Linked DNA regions of Homo sapiens: regions 2, 3 and 4 are each linked to region 1. The links are contacts of gene promoters, found by promoter capture Hi-C in blood cells and fetal thymus (Javierre and others, 2016). All regions are on one chromosome and are shown on one strand. Each heading gives the region's core, a stretch centred on a gene start or on the middle of the fragment in contact. The rest is flanking DNA. Distances are from core to core; before and after follow the strand shown. Region 1 holds the start of WHRN (whirlin). Region 2 has its middle 24 kb from the start of TNFSF8. Region 3 overlaps TNFSF8 (TNF superfamily member 8). Region 4 has its middle 35 kb from the start of TNFSF8.

Region 1 (3,090 bases), core at 434-2,933:
GGGAAAAACAAAAAACAAAAAACCACAGAATGGCAGTAGCAAAGGCCACCTAATTATGCCAAGCAGAGATTTTATCTCTTTTAATGCTCATAAGAATCCACAGCCCTATTCACACATTGTAACCACACATTTGCTCAAGTATTTGTTACTATCACCTGCACTAGCTTTTAAGCCTCACAAAGGCAAGGGCCATGTCTGTGCAGAACTACGTTCCCAGTGCCTGAGAGCTATTTGCTCTGTAAGCTATACATTCCTGTTTTAAAGTATTAAAAAAAAAAAAAAAGCCCAGAAAGGCCAAGTGATTCATCTAAGGACACACAGCATGGAGTTACTGAAAAAGCTGTGCCACTCTGTCCATACTCTGCCCCAGACTCTCTCCAAACCACAGCCTTACCTTGACGGCCTCCGCGTGGGTCACCCGGGCCAGGGATTTGTCGTTGACGCGCAGAATCTGGTCCCCGACCCGCAGTCCTTCCTTCTCAGCTAGAGAGCCTGGTTCCACCAGAGACACGTAGATGCCCACGCCGTGCTCCGAGCCCCCACGGATGCTGAAGCCCAAGCCCTCGTGGGCCTTGGCACGCCGCAAACTCACCAGGCGCACCTCCCCTGGCCCCGCGCTGTCGGGGCCGCCCCAGGCGGGCTGCCTGTAGGGGGTGGTGGCGGGCAGGTAGAGGCCCTCGGCCGTGTATTGGTCGAAGAGCAGCTGGTCGGAGCGCGGGATGACCAGACGAAGCATGGGCAGCAGGCGCCGCTTGACCGGACTGTCCAGCAGCACGCGCAGGGTGCGCACCAGGTCGAAGACGTTGCGGCGCGCGTGGTAAGCGTTCAGGCAGTGGGTGAACTGCTCCCGCTCCGCCTCGCTCAGCAGCGCGGTCAGCGCTTGGTGCAGCTGGCGCACGTTGGCAGACAGTAACCGCAGCCCCGCGCCCCCGCCGCCGCCCGCCCCGGCCGCCGAGCCCAGCGAGCCGGTGGAGGACGAGCTCACCGACAGGCCGTCCAGCGGCGCGTTCATCTCCACGCCGAGGCCCGGCCGGGCTCTGAGCGCGCGGGGTGTGGGCGGTGCCGCTGTCCTCGCGGGTACTGGCGCGACAGCTGGATCCCCGGGAGCGCGGAGACGACGGCTGGAGCCTGGGTTTGGGGAGCACGGGTACAGTGGCTGGATCCTAGGGGGTCGCGGAGACCGCTGCTAGAGTCCCGGAGGCGCGAAGACGGCGGGGGTCGCGAACCTGGAATCCGGGGGACGCGGAGACGTCGGCGGGTTCCTGAGAGACACAAGAGTTGGCTGCTGGAGCCCGGAGGTGGCGGAGACTGCTGCTGGAGTCCGGGGGGCGCGGGGTCAGCAGCTACATTCTGGAGGGCACGGAGACGACGGGTGGCTGGAGTTTGGGGGCGCCGCAAAGCTGACCTGACTGCCCCGTCACACCATGCCCGGGGCTCCCCCAGCCGGGCGCCCGTTCCTCTAGGGCTGGGGGACCCCAAAGTCAGAAGTTGGGGCGGAGGGCGCTCTAGTCCCAGAGCACTCCGGGGAGTGGCAGCCGGTGAAGCGGCGCGGGCGTCCGACAAGGGGTGCGGGGCATGTCCGGGGCAGCCCCGGGATGCAGCCGCCCGGGGAGCCTCCGCGCCTCTGCGCCGCCCGGCCGCAAGCCCGGACTTTGCGAACTGTTGAGCCACCCGGGCCGAGTCTTCCAGCGAGTTCCGACGCCGTCTCGTTGCCAGCCCGGCCCGGGCCCCGCCCCCTCGTCCCTCCTCCTGCCCGCCCCCTCCCCACGGGCTCCTCAGGAAATGACGTCCCGCCCGGTGCGCCTGGCCGTTGCCTGGAGACGGGGTGAAACAGTCCAGCCCCAGGGAAGAAAGGGGTGAACGCGGCGGTAGGGGTGGGAGGAGCCCCCGCGTCCCCTACCCCGCCGGCAGAGCCGGGAGCGGGGCTCAGAAACAGCGCTCTTCGGCGGTCGCAGCGAGTGCCGACACCAGGATCGCTTTGGAGTAATTAGCCGGCTAGCTAATTCACAATTCGGGGGGAAATCGTCAAGTTTTTTGTTTGTTTGATTTTTGCTTCCAAAATACTGGGCACTTCAGTCTCGGTTTTCTTCCTTACAATGTGGCGCTCCCCTCCTGCACGCGCCCTGACATGACAAATTCCAGGGTTTATGTGGACGGTCGTTGGCCACCTACTGTGTGCGAGAGACGAATACAAGCATAGACTGCTGTCTGCCGGAGTCAACTCCGTGGCAGGGATGGATCAGGCTGGACCCCTTCCCAGTCTCCATTGCAAGGGAAAAGCCACTTTCAGAAATATTATATAAAGTGTACACCCCACGCTCGCGCACACACGTACAAATGAGCGCATATAAAACTGGTGAAATCTGAGTAAGGTGGGTGGATTTTATCAATGTCAATGTCCTGGTTGCCATCGTGTCAACATCGGGGGAAACTGGGTGAAGGGTACATGGCATGTCTATGTATTATTTCTTAGAACTGCATTTGGATCTACAATCTCAAAATAGAAATTAAAAATATACATATTTGAAGTGGCTTGGAGAAAAATCTCTTCTATGCTCTCCCATCCCTAGGCAAAATGGGAAGATACACCCAGGTGTGCCCTGGAGTCGGTCGTCACCCACCCAATCCCCCAAATAAGATTTAAGTAAAATCCTGTGCTTTTATTCTAATGGGGAGCTTCATAGTGCTACACACACACACACACACATACACACACACACCCTACCTCACACACATCCCTTCCAACCTGAGCTGCCTCTCCTAAGCTACTCTTCTATGTATTTTTCGTAAAAGTCTTCCAGAATTTCCATTGCAGAGCCAGCTGACATCTATCCAGGGTAGGGCAAGATGGAGGATTACCTGGAGGATTTGGTTTGTGGTGGACCCAGAAGGATAGATCATTCATTTATTTATTTATTTATTTATTTATTTATTTATTTATTTATTTGGTCGCTTTTCATTCAACGTTTTTGAAGCATCTGCTCTGTGCTGGGTCATGTGCTGGGTGCTGGAGACCCAGGGGAGAAAGATCAAATAAATAGAGTTAAAAACCAGTGTGATACCTGTTGTAATGGCGAGGGAGCCCAGGTT
Region 2 (3,090 bases), core at 180-2,679, 450 kb after region 1:
TATTAAGCCAGAGATAGAAGAGATTTACAAAACTCTAAAACCAATGTTGCTCTTAGCATTTTTTTAAATGTTATTTTTTCATAAAAATATGTTAAACTATTTCTGTAACTCTTTACCTATTAATTTATTTTAAAATAATAATAACCCATGAATCCCACTGCAACAGGATTATTGCTGTTGTTTTAAAATAAATTAATAAGTACAGATTTTTTAAGTTTCTCAGTTTTTATTTCTAATAATATTCATAGATAAAGCCGTATGCACACAAGTTTTTTGGAGTCCTCAATTTTTAAAAGGCTACGGAGTTTTGAGACCAAAATGACTGAAAACTACTGACTACATTAACGTTTAGGAGACATTGTTGATTCTGTGCTGCCTACTCCCAGTGCAATAAAAGTAATTTGTAATTAATCCTTAGTAATTCTGACAAGAAAATGCCAACAGCAATGATGTGAAGGCATCCTGCTGCTTTTAAAGGAAGCAAGACTTAATATGCAGAGAGTTAAGAGCTATTTCACAAAAATAATTACATCTGGGTTCACTTTAACCCAAGGGCATGGATTGCAAAATGTAATTAGAGCACATTTTCTCAAATATTAATTGCTATTTCTTTAATAGAGGAAAATCATAATAGAAAAAAATAAAAAAGGAACTCCACCTCTCGGAATTTCACTATGCCAGGCTTCTGGCCAAGGGCATGTGATGGCTTCTTTTCAGCAGTCTTGAAGGGGTCTCCTCACAAGCAAAGCAATGCAATCTGCATTGTGATCCTGATTCTGCTATCAGCTTGCTGCTCTCCCTGGGTTCCATTTTCCTCATGGAGGTAGGGAGAGAGTATCTCTTGGGTCCTTCCTTGAGAGACTCATCTGTATTGAGACATCTGAAACAGAATGAGGAGCGGATAAAGAGGGCATTTAGGAAGCCAATGCAGTGATGGCCAAGACCAAGACTTTGGATTTAGTCAAAGAGAGGCCCATAGGAGCCCAAGGAGAGATTGTAGGAAATCTTGCATCCAAAATTCCAGGAGGGATTAAGGGAAAGTAGTGGGTATGTATAAGGAGCAAAGTAGGAGTTTACTTGAGAAGAAGAAGCTGTCACATAGTTGATGAGAGCAGGCAATCCCTGAGTAGCACATGGCCACTTCCAAATCCAGCAAGGACATTGGGGAGGTCCCCTTGCTGGCTTATGTCTAAGCTTGACATGTCATCCTACAGGAAACACATACAGTCTGGCTCCACTTTCTGACAGTACGGTAACTTCTTTTGTTAGGTTATGGACTGGAATCTGTTTATAGGCAAAAATCTTAAAAGGAAGAAACATATGCCAAATGTTGGTCTCAGTCTTGCGACACATTCTTGTGTTTATGGCATCATCCAGTGACTCAGCGTTGCTTTTTGGATAGGGTACAAATGCTTCATGGTCTCTTTCCTGCTGTCTTTGCAAGTTTGCTCCTGAGGGCTTCTGCAGGCACACTCTCCCCTTCAGCTGATCGTAACGACTTCAGATCCTTTAAGTCCCAACGGAGCTCGCTCTCACACCCAAGCCTTTGCACATGCTGGTCCTTCTACCTGGAGGCCCATTCCCCTAAACTGGCTGACTGGCTAGCTTTCAAGTTCTCAGTTTAAATGTCATCTTCTTAGAACCACCTTCCCTGCAGACTAAAGTAAGCTTATAGTTTATCTACCTCCATTATTCTCTCTCATGGTACCTCGTTTTAGGGCTTCATAATACCTATCATATTTTATAATTTTTGAGATTGAGTATTTTTGGAAATTAACTGCCACTTTATCAAGTTAAAAAACATGCTGAAGGTTTATAATGAAAACAGCAGTGCTCTGCCTATGAATCTCTACCTCACTTGGTCCTGCTCTCCAGAGAAATCACTTGGAACTGTGCTAGCTGTCTCTTCTAATACATGCCTCAGTATTTCTAGCAAATATGCTTATATTGTTATATATTGATTTATTAATATTAGACTTCTACTGATTTTCTGCTATAAAAGGAAAATTTAGATCTTCTATACATCTCTTCATTTCTCCTCTTGCTTTAATATTCATTTCACAATTTTTGGATAAATCCAAATCATTGTTTATGTTTTTATGATTATACAAAAATTATTTGCAGAGTCCAAGTAGTATACTAGGATCATATATTTTCTTGTCCAACTTTATTCTTCCTAAAATTGCCTGTTTACCTCCAGTTGGTGTTGTTTGTTCTACATTTATTTTTATCTTTTTTTCACCCATTCCATCAGATCACTAATTAGTTTTTCCTTTTAAATCAGGCGTTGGCAAACTCTTTCTATAAAAGATCATATAGTAAATATTTTTAGACTTTTTGGTCCAGACAGCCTCTGTTGCAACTACTCAACTCAGCTGTTAAAGTCATGGGCAATATGCAACTGAGCTGCAGACAATATGTAAATGAAGGGGGGCAGCTGGCCATGTTCCAAAAAACCTTTATTTACAAAAGCAGGTGGTAGGCAGGATTTGGTCCACGGACTGCAGTTTGTCAACTCCTAATCAAAATGATAAAATAGACCAGATATTATTTTTTTGTAATGCTTTACTTTCCCAAAGCCCTGTCCTAGAGCCCCCTTGCCTGCGTTGCTATCTGTACTGCTGGTTCTCTTTGTGTCCTACCCTGCTGGCATCCTGGAACTTCCCCCCACTGTTTTCCTGTTTTAGACCCCTTGTTTTTTGGACCTCCGCACTTCCTCTTTCTTGTTTCATTCCTTGGTTTAGCTGGAGGATATTCTCAAGTAACCTCCTAAAAAAGAGGGTGTAAAAGGGAGGTAAATTTTCCGAGTCTTTCTATGTCTGGAAATGTCTATATGTTCCTCTTATGTCTTTTGATAGCTTAGCTAAGTAATGTATTCCAGATAAAATATTTTGTCAGAATTTTGAAGGCTTTCTTCAGTTATTTTCTGACTTCTAGCATTTCTGGCAGATGACTGATTGCCATTCTGATTCCTGTTTGTATATGATCTTGATCTTCTTCTCTCCTTGCCCTCAACCCTTTGTCTGAGAGGTTTTAGGAACATGTCTTTATCCCTGGAGTTCTGAAATGCATGATCATGTACCCTGGCGT
Region 3 (3,090 bases), core at 285-2,784, 410 kb after region 1:
ATGACTTGCCTAGGGCCACATAGTTAATTTATAGAAGATCAGGGACCAGAGCTGGGACTTTTTTTTTTTTTTTAGACAAAGTTTTACTCTGTCACCCATGCTGGAGTGCAGTGGTATGATCATGGGTCACTGCAGCTTCATCCTCCTGAGTTCAAGCGATCCTCTTGCCTCAGCTTCCTGAGTAGCTGGGAGTACAGGTGCACACCACTACACTCAGCTAATTAAAAAAAGGAGTCTTGCTCTGTTGCCAGGCTGGAGTGCAGTGGCACTATCTTGGCTCACTGCAACCTCCGCCTCCCAGTTCAGGTGATTCTCCTGCCTCAGTCTCCAGAGTAGCTGGGACTACAGGCACCCACCACCACACCCAGCTAAGTTTTGTATTTTTAGTAGACACAGGGTTTCACCATATTGGCCAGGTTGGTCTCGAACTCCTGACCTTGTGGTCCACCCGCCTCAGCCTCCCAAAGTGCTGGGATTACAGGTGTGAGCTATCACACTCGGCTAGAGCCAGGACTCAACTCCCAATCTGGTGCTTTTCCCCCCTCCATATGTTTGGGTGTTTTTTTCTTTTTTTTTCCTTCTGGTCAACATGAGAATAATCAAGTATATCATAAAAGTAGATGTGTTTTTTTTTTTTCCATGTTTGATTCATCTGTGAACGTATGTTGTAAACATACCTGGGAAGGTACATCTCTATGTCTCCTGTGGTTGGAAATTCTGAATTAATTGTGTGTTTATATGCCAAGCATTGTGAGGACACCATACATAATTAAATTGGGTCCCCATCCTTATGGATTTATTACAAGTTTATATTTAAATATACAAATATGTATACACATGTAGTATACATACAAATGCATATTATATATTTAAACATTTACATAGTATATTATTTATTCTGTAATAAATATATACATAAATATTTACACAAATAAGAGGTTGATAGAAACAGATTGTCTTTTGAAGGAGGGAATCCTGGGCTGGGGATTGAAGGTGACTAAAGGGAGGTTCTAGTTCAAGGACTCTCAACAAGGAGTTAACAGAAGCAGAGAGGCACAGTTCTTTTCCCCTAATAAATTCTTCAGACACTAAGTTTCACACCCTGATTGTCCCTCCCCTTTCTCTCCAGCCATGGAGACACCCATACAATATTCTGCCAATAAGGAATGAAGTATTTTATTCATCTTTTGACCTGCCCAGGTTGGAATCTCCTGTATTGCATTGAATTAAAATATTAGTAAAGACCTAGAGAGGTGTGAGCGTGTGTATGCGAAAAAACCAACTTCCTAACCTCTACCAAAGCAAGAAATTAGCAGCCGCCCACAGCTTATTTTCTTAGTGTTCTGTATGAACACTAGGACCATCTGGAGTTCCCCTATTATTGTAACATTTCCCTGGGAGGTCTGTCATTTGCCTTCCGCTGAAAGCTTGTTTTCTTATGAATGGATCTCTTCTCTAGTGCAAGAGGTTGGTAGTGAGTCAAGGAGGTCTCCTGAAGGCAAAGCCCTGGCACAGCACCAATCTGGAGATGGGGGAAGTCAGCTTAAACATTTGGGCCCTACCTTCTCAGGGGAAGGGAGGCAAACTTGTCCTGGAAGGCCCTTCCTACTGTAACAGTCTACGACTTTGTTGCCTTAGTTGAAAGCTTTTAACCTAACAAAGCTAAGTTTTTGTAGTCTTTCAGTTATGCATGCAGTTTGCAGGAAAACTTGATATCACAAAATTCCCCTTTATGTTGCCCTTGTGAGACAACACACAACATTTTAAAATTTAATAAACAACTTACAACTTACTGCCAAGCGTGACCATTGATTAGCATGATGTGCAAATGCACTAAGAAAAATATCTGCATTGAAATGTCTTACCACAATCATCAAATTCATCAAGCTGCCCAGGGACATATACAGGGACAGTGAGAGAGGCTAGAATAGCAAACCTGGTACAGCCATCATTGCAGAGGCTGCTAGCAGTTCGGGAAGTCCTAGAGAATCATTCATGCAGCACACCTTGAATGAGCACCTGGTCTGTGGTAGGAACTACGTTAGTCACTAAAAGACATCCTATGGATTTTATGCTTTAGTCATTAAGGCAGCCATTTAAAAAATATAAATAAATGTGTAATTAGAATTGCAGGTTGTGGCAAGAGCTATGGAGGAAAAGAATCATAGTGCTTTAAGGTAGTGCTGTTAGAACTTCAATGTGCATATGAATCACCTGGGAGTCTCGTTAAAATGCAAATTCTGATTCTGCAGATTTGGGGGGAGTTTAACATTCTGCATTTTTTTCTTTTTGAGATGGAGCCTCACTCTGTCACCCAGGCTGGAGTGCAGTGGCGCAATCTCGGCTCACTGTAGCCTCCATCTCCTGGATTCGAGCAATTCCTCTACCTCAGCCTCCCCAGTAGCTGGGACTACAGGGGCCCACCACCACCCCCGGCTAATTTTTGTATTTTTAGTAGAGACGGGATTTCGCCATGTTGACCAGGCTGGTCTTGAACTCCTGACCTCTTGTGATCTGCCCGCCTGGGCCTCCCAAAGTGCTGGGATTACAAGCGTGAGCCACCGCACCTGGCCAACATTCTGTATTTCTGGCAGCTTTCGAGTAATACTGACACTCCTGGCCCACAGAACACTTTGAATAGCACAGCTGTGAGAAGTAATATCAGAGAGGAGGACCTAATTTATATGGGGGTCAAGGAAAGCCTCTTTTCTCTCTGTCACTTGAATGCATTCTGGTTTCCTAATTTCAGACATGGGATGTCAAAAGCAGAGCATCTCAAACAGGAAAGAAACCTGTCATTTAAACCTTCACCCAGGGCCCAGGAAGTCCATGACAGAAGCGTGACTATTCCTATTTTGAAGAGCTCTTGGGATGAGGTCTTTACAGCTTCTCCTAGCTACCCATGGTAGTCAAGATTAGACAATCAAAGCCAGAGGGAGATTGAGACATCTTTCAGTCCATCAAGCTAATTTTATGGAGGAGGAAACCAAGGCACTCATGAGTCAGAGGCAGATCTTGGACTGAAATTCTCTGGTGTACTTTCCACTGCCCTAGGAGAGATGCTGTTTCCAGAAACAAAGGATAGAAGAG
Region 4 (3,090 bases), core at 305-2,804, 390 kb after region 1:
GATGTGATACATTTTGACGTTGTTGTTACTCAGAAGCCCACAGTTTAGCAGGGAGGCAAATGTACAATCATGCTGTCATAGTGAGTGTAGTAAATTTTTAGACAGAAGTGAGAATATCAAGGTCCAGGTTGCATGTCTAATTTAGCGGAATGGTTCTTGAGCAATAATGTCTGAGTTGAAATTTTATGAATGAGGTCAAATTAACAAGATGTGAATGAAGGGCAAGGACCTTGTGGACAAAGGAATCAGCAGGCACCAGGTCAAGTAGCCTCAGGGTAGTGCAGTGTAGTGTGGTTAGAAATATAGCTCTGGAGCCAAACTGCAGTGGTTACATCTTAGCTCTTCAGCTCATGAGCTGCTGAAACTTAGACATACTTAAGCATTTCTTCGAGCCTCTGTTTCCTCATCTGCAACATGGGAATGGTCATCTCTATCTCATAAGGGTGAGATGCAGTAGACTACAGTATTTGAAGGCTTCCATGTGGTGCCTGAAACCTGGCAAGCAAGCGTTCAGTAAGTGATAGTAATTATATCTATTTACGTAACATAAAGCGGTTTAAGTAAACACATCAAAGTAATGAATGAGGAGGATGAAAAGACCAGATGCAATTGAGGACTGTGTGAGTGTATGAATGTAATGTTGGTGGTAGAAATGAAGCCTCCTTCAGTGTTTTCTTGCTGTTTACTCATCCCATTGTATTGATCCTGTGATGGATTGTGACCTTTCTTCCCTTGAGTACTGTGCCATGCGCTGACTGCATCAGGCCAGCTGGTAAAATGAGACTCATTGTGAGAACGGAAGGCATAGTCAGAATGTCAAGGAGGTTAGGTCATCTGCGTCCCTAGCAATGGAAAGGAAATGATGAAATACTTCAGCTGGTTTTTGTTTGGAGCCTCCTGGTTGTGAAGGAGGATCAGCCTTCAAATCAGCTTGTTCCTGACTAGTTTAGCTGATATCCCTGCCTGGTAATTCCCTCTTCCTGTTGCAAGTGAAATCTAAACATTTCCTGAGTGCTGACTTTGTGTAGGACACTGATTTGGGTGCTGGGATTTGGAGATGGATTCTTCTTGTCTTCTAAGTGCTCATTTCTAAGTGAGAAAAGTGTTCATTTGCAGTGCAATCAGTGCTGCTTCTAGAGAGGCACAGGGAGAGGACCTTGATACTGCATCTCGCAAACAGTCAGTTGGTTATCTAGTCCAGTTTTCCCTGCAGGATGAAACCATCCTTTGAGAGTTGGCCTGACAGAGACCTTTGTTGATCCAATGGCTGGCTTTTCTGAATGCAGATGGGAATAGGCTTCAGTGGATTTGAGGAACTTTCACTTTTCTCAAACTTGCATTGATTCATTTTTTCCTACTCCTCTCCCCAAGGTCTAACTCCTTCACAGACACTGAATATGATAAAATACCCCAAGAGTTGTACACTTTCCAAGCTTATTCTATGTGTTTGTTCTCCCAACAGCTTCCCATTGTACAGCTGAGAAAATTTAAGTTTACAAAGTCCATGTGACTTGCCAAGGTCATAGAGTTAGTAATTGCTTCAGCTCAGATTGAAACTGGCTTCCAGTTGCCAAGGCCACTATTCTTTCCCATCTGCCACCCTCAGACTTGTTTTTTTCTCTTTCCTTGGCTATAGGGAAAGTACAGCCCCCATAGAAGTTTCTAAACTGCATCCAAAGCTTTCAACATGTTGTCCAGATTATTCCTAGTGTTGCCCAATATTCCCAAGGGAGACAGTTGGATCAAAAGCAGTTGTTAAAAATTCAGTGGTGATCATTACAAATGAATACCATCACGTTGACTTGATGGTTTTGTAGTGTTTAGACCCTCACATTTGCATAAGCAGCAGACAAGGAAGACCAAGCCAATTCATGAAAGTCCACTTGGGGGAAACAGAGAAACATAACGGATTACCAGCAATCTTCTCCACTTACCAGAAAAAGTCAACCAACTAGTGTTCTTCAGATTGTAAGGTGCACCTGAATCTCTTGGATCATATTAAAATGCAGATTCTGTTCCAGTTTTTAGGTATGTATGAGATGCCTGCATTTTTAACAAGCTCTCTGGTGATACCAGGCACCAGGACATAACAGCAAAGATTTAAACCACTGACTCTTAATATTTGGCTTAAATTTGGGAGCTTAAAATAATCCTGATGCCTGGGTTCTAAATCCAGAGATTCTAATTTAATTGCTCTAGGAAGTGGCCTGGGATTTCAGGATTCTAAGGTATACCAAGGTTTGATTTAAACTTTCTAGTGTATTTCAAAATATCTAGAAGAGAGGATTTTGAATGTTCTCACCTCAAAGAAATAACTGTTTAAAGTAAGGGATATGTTCACTATTGCACAATGTATACATGTATTGAAATATCACACTGTGCTACCTAAATATGTACACTATTTTTGTGTCAATCAAAAATAAAATAAAACTTAAAAAACTTTCTAAGGTTAATCTCACTATTTCTAATCACAAAATGACTAGAATAGCATATAGATATCTCAGAGATAGGAAGGGTGATGGATTCTACAGCAAATATACCACACCTTGCTCAGAAAAGGGGTTCAATAAAGTAAGCAAAGATTTATTTTTTTTTCCTTCCATGTTCTCAGATGGCACAGGTAGATTCTGCTTTCTAAAAATTTCACCTTTCTCTAATAGGCATTCTTATCTCCTGAGCCCTGAAAATTCTTTTTTTCTTTCTTTTTTTTTGAGATTGAGTTTCACTCTTGTTGCCCAGGCTGGAGTTGCAGTGGTGCAATCTCGGCTCACTGCAACCTCCTTCTCCTGGGTTCAAGCGATTCTCCTGCCTCAGCCTCCCGAGTAGCTGGGATTACAGGCATGTGCCACCACGCCTGGCTAATTTTGATTTTTAGTAGAGACGGGGTTTCTCCATGTTGGTCAGGCTGGTCTCGAACCCCTGACCTCAAGTGATCCACCCACCTTGCCCTCCCAAAGTGCTGGCATTACAGGCATAAGCCACTGTCCCCGGCCTGAAAATTATTTCTAAGAAAAATAGAGGCTTTCAATGAACATTTCCATATTTTGAAAAGAACTGTTTTTTTTTTTCTTTTGTTTTGGTATGGCTTGA

Evidence for each region. Contacts are between HindIII fragments. The CHiCAGO score rates a contact against its expected background, and 5 or more counts as called.
Region 2: a fragment that was not itself captured here is called in contact with the fragment with the promoter of WHRN in region 1 in 1 of 17 cell types (naive B cells); the score reaches 5.7 in naive B cells.
Region 3: a contact is called between a fragment that was not itself captured here and the fragment with the promoter of WHRN in region 1, in 2 of 17 cell types (naive B cells and total B cells). The highest score is 9.0, in naive B cells.
Region 4: a fragment that was not itself captured here is called in contact with the fragment with the promoter of WHRN in region 1 in 1 of 17 cell types (naive B cells); the score reaches 7.5 in naive B cells.

The regions. Positions count from the first base shown.
Region 1 is chr9:114,503,790-114,506,879 of GRCh38, forward strand. WHRN (whirlin) reads right to left here and starts at 1,684. Exons shown (of 12, transcript NM_015404.4): 1 at 395-1,684. The coding sequence starts at 1,012. RefSeq lists enhancers at 173-1,063, 1,064-1,954 and a silencer at 1,479-1,778. The HindIII fragment of the contact is 12,008 bases long and covers 1-3,090 here.
Region 2 is chr9:114,952,744-114,955,833 of GRCh38, forward strand. No RefSeq gene overlaps it. Among named protein-coding and RNA genes, the nearest start is that of TNFSF8, 24 kb to the left of the region's middle. The HindIII fragment of the contact is 474 bases long and covers 1,193-1,666 here.
Region 3 is chr9:114,918,396-114,921,485 of GRCh38, forward strand. The region is part of intron 1 of TNFSF8 (TNF superfamily member 8); the gene reads right to left. Among named protein-coding and RNA genes, the nearest start is that of TNFSF8, 11 kb to the right of the region's middle. The HindIII fragment of the contact is 218 bases long and covers 1,426-1,643 here.
Region 4 is chr9:114,894,208-114,897,297 of GRCh38, forward strand. It overlaps a transcript of TNFSF8 not described here. Among named protein-coding and RNA genes, the nearest start is that of TNFSF8, 35 kb to the right of the region's middle. RefSeq lists an enhancer at 1-830. The HindIII fragment of the contact is 246 bases long and covers 1,432-1,677 here.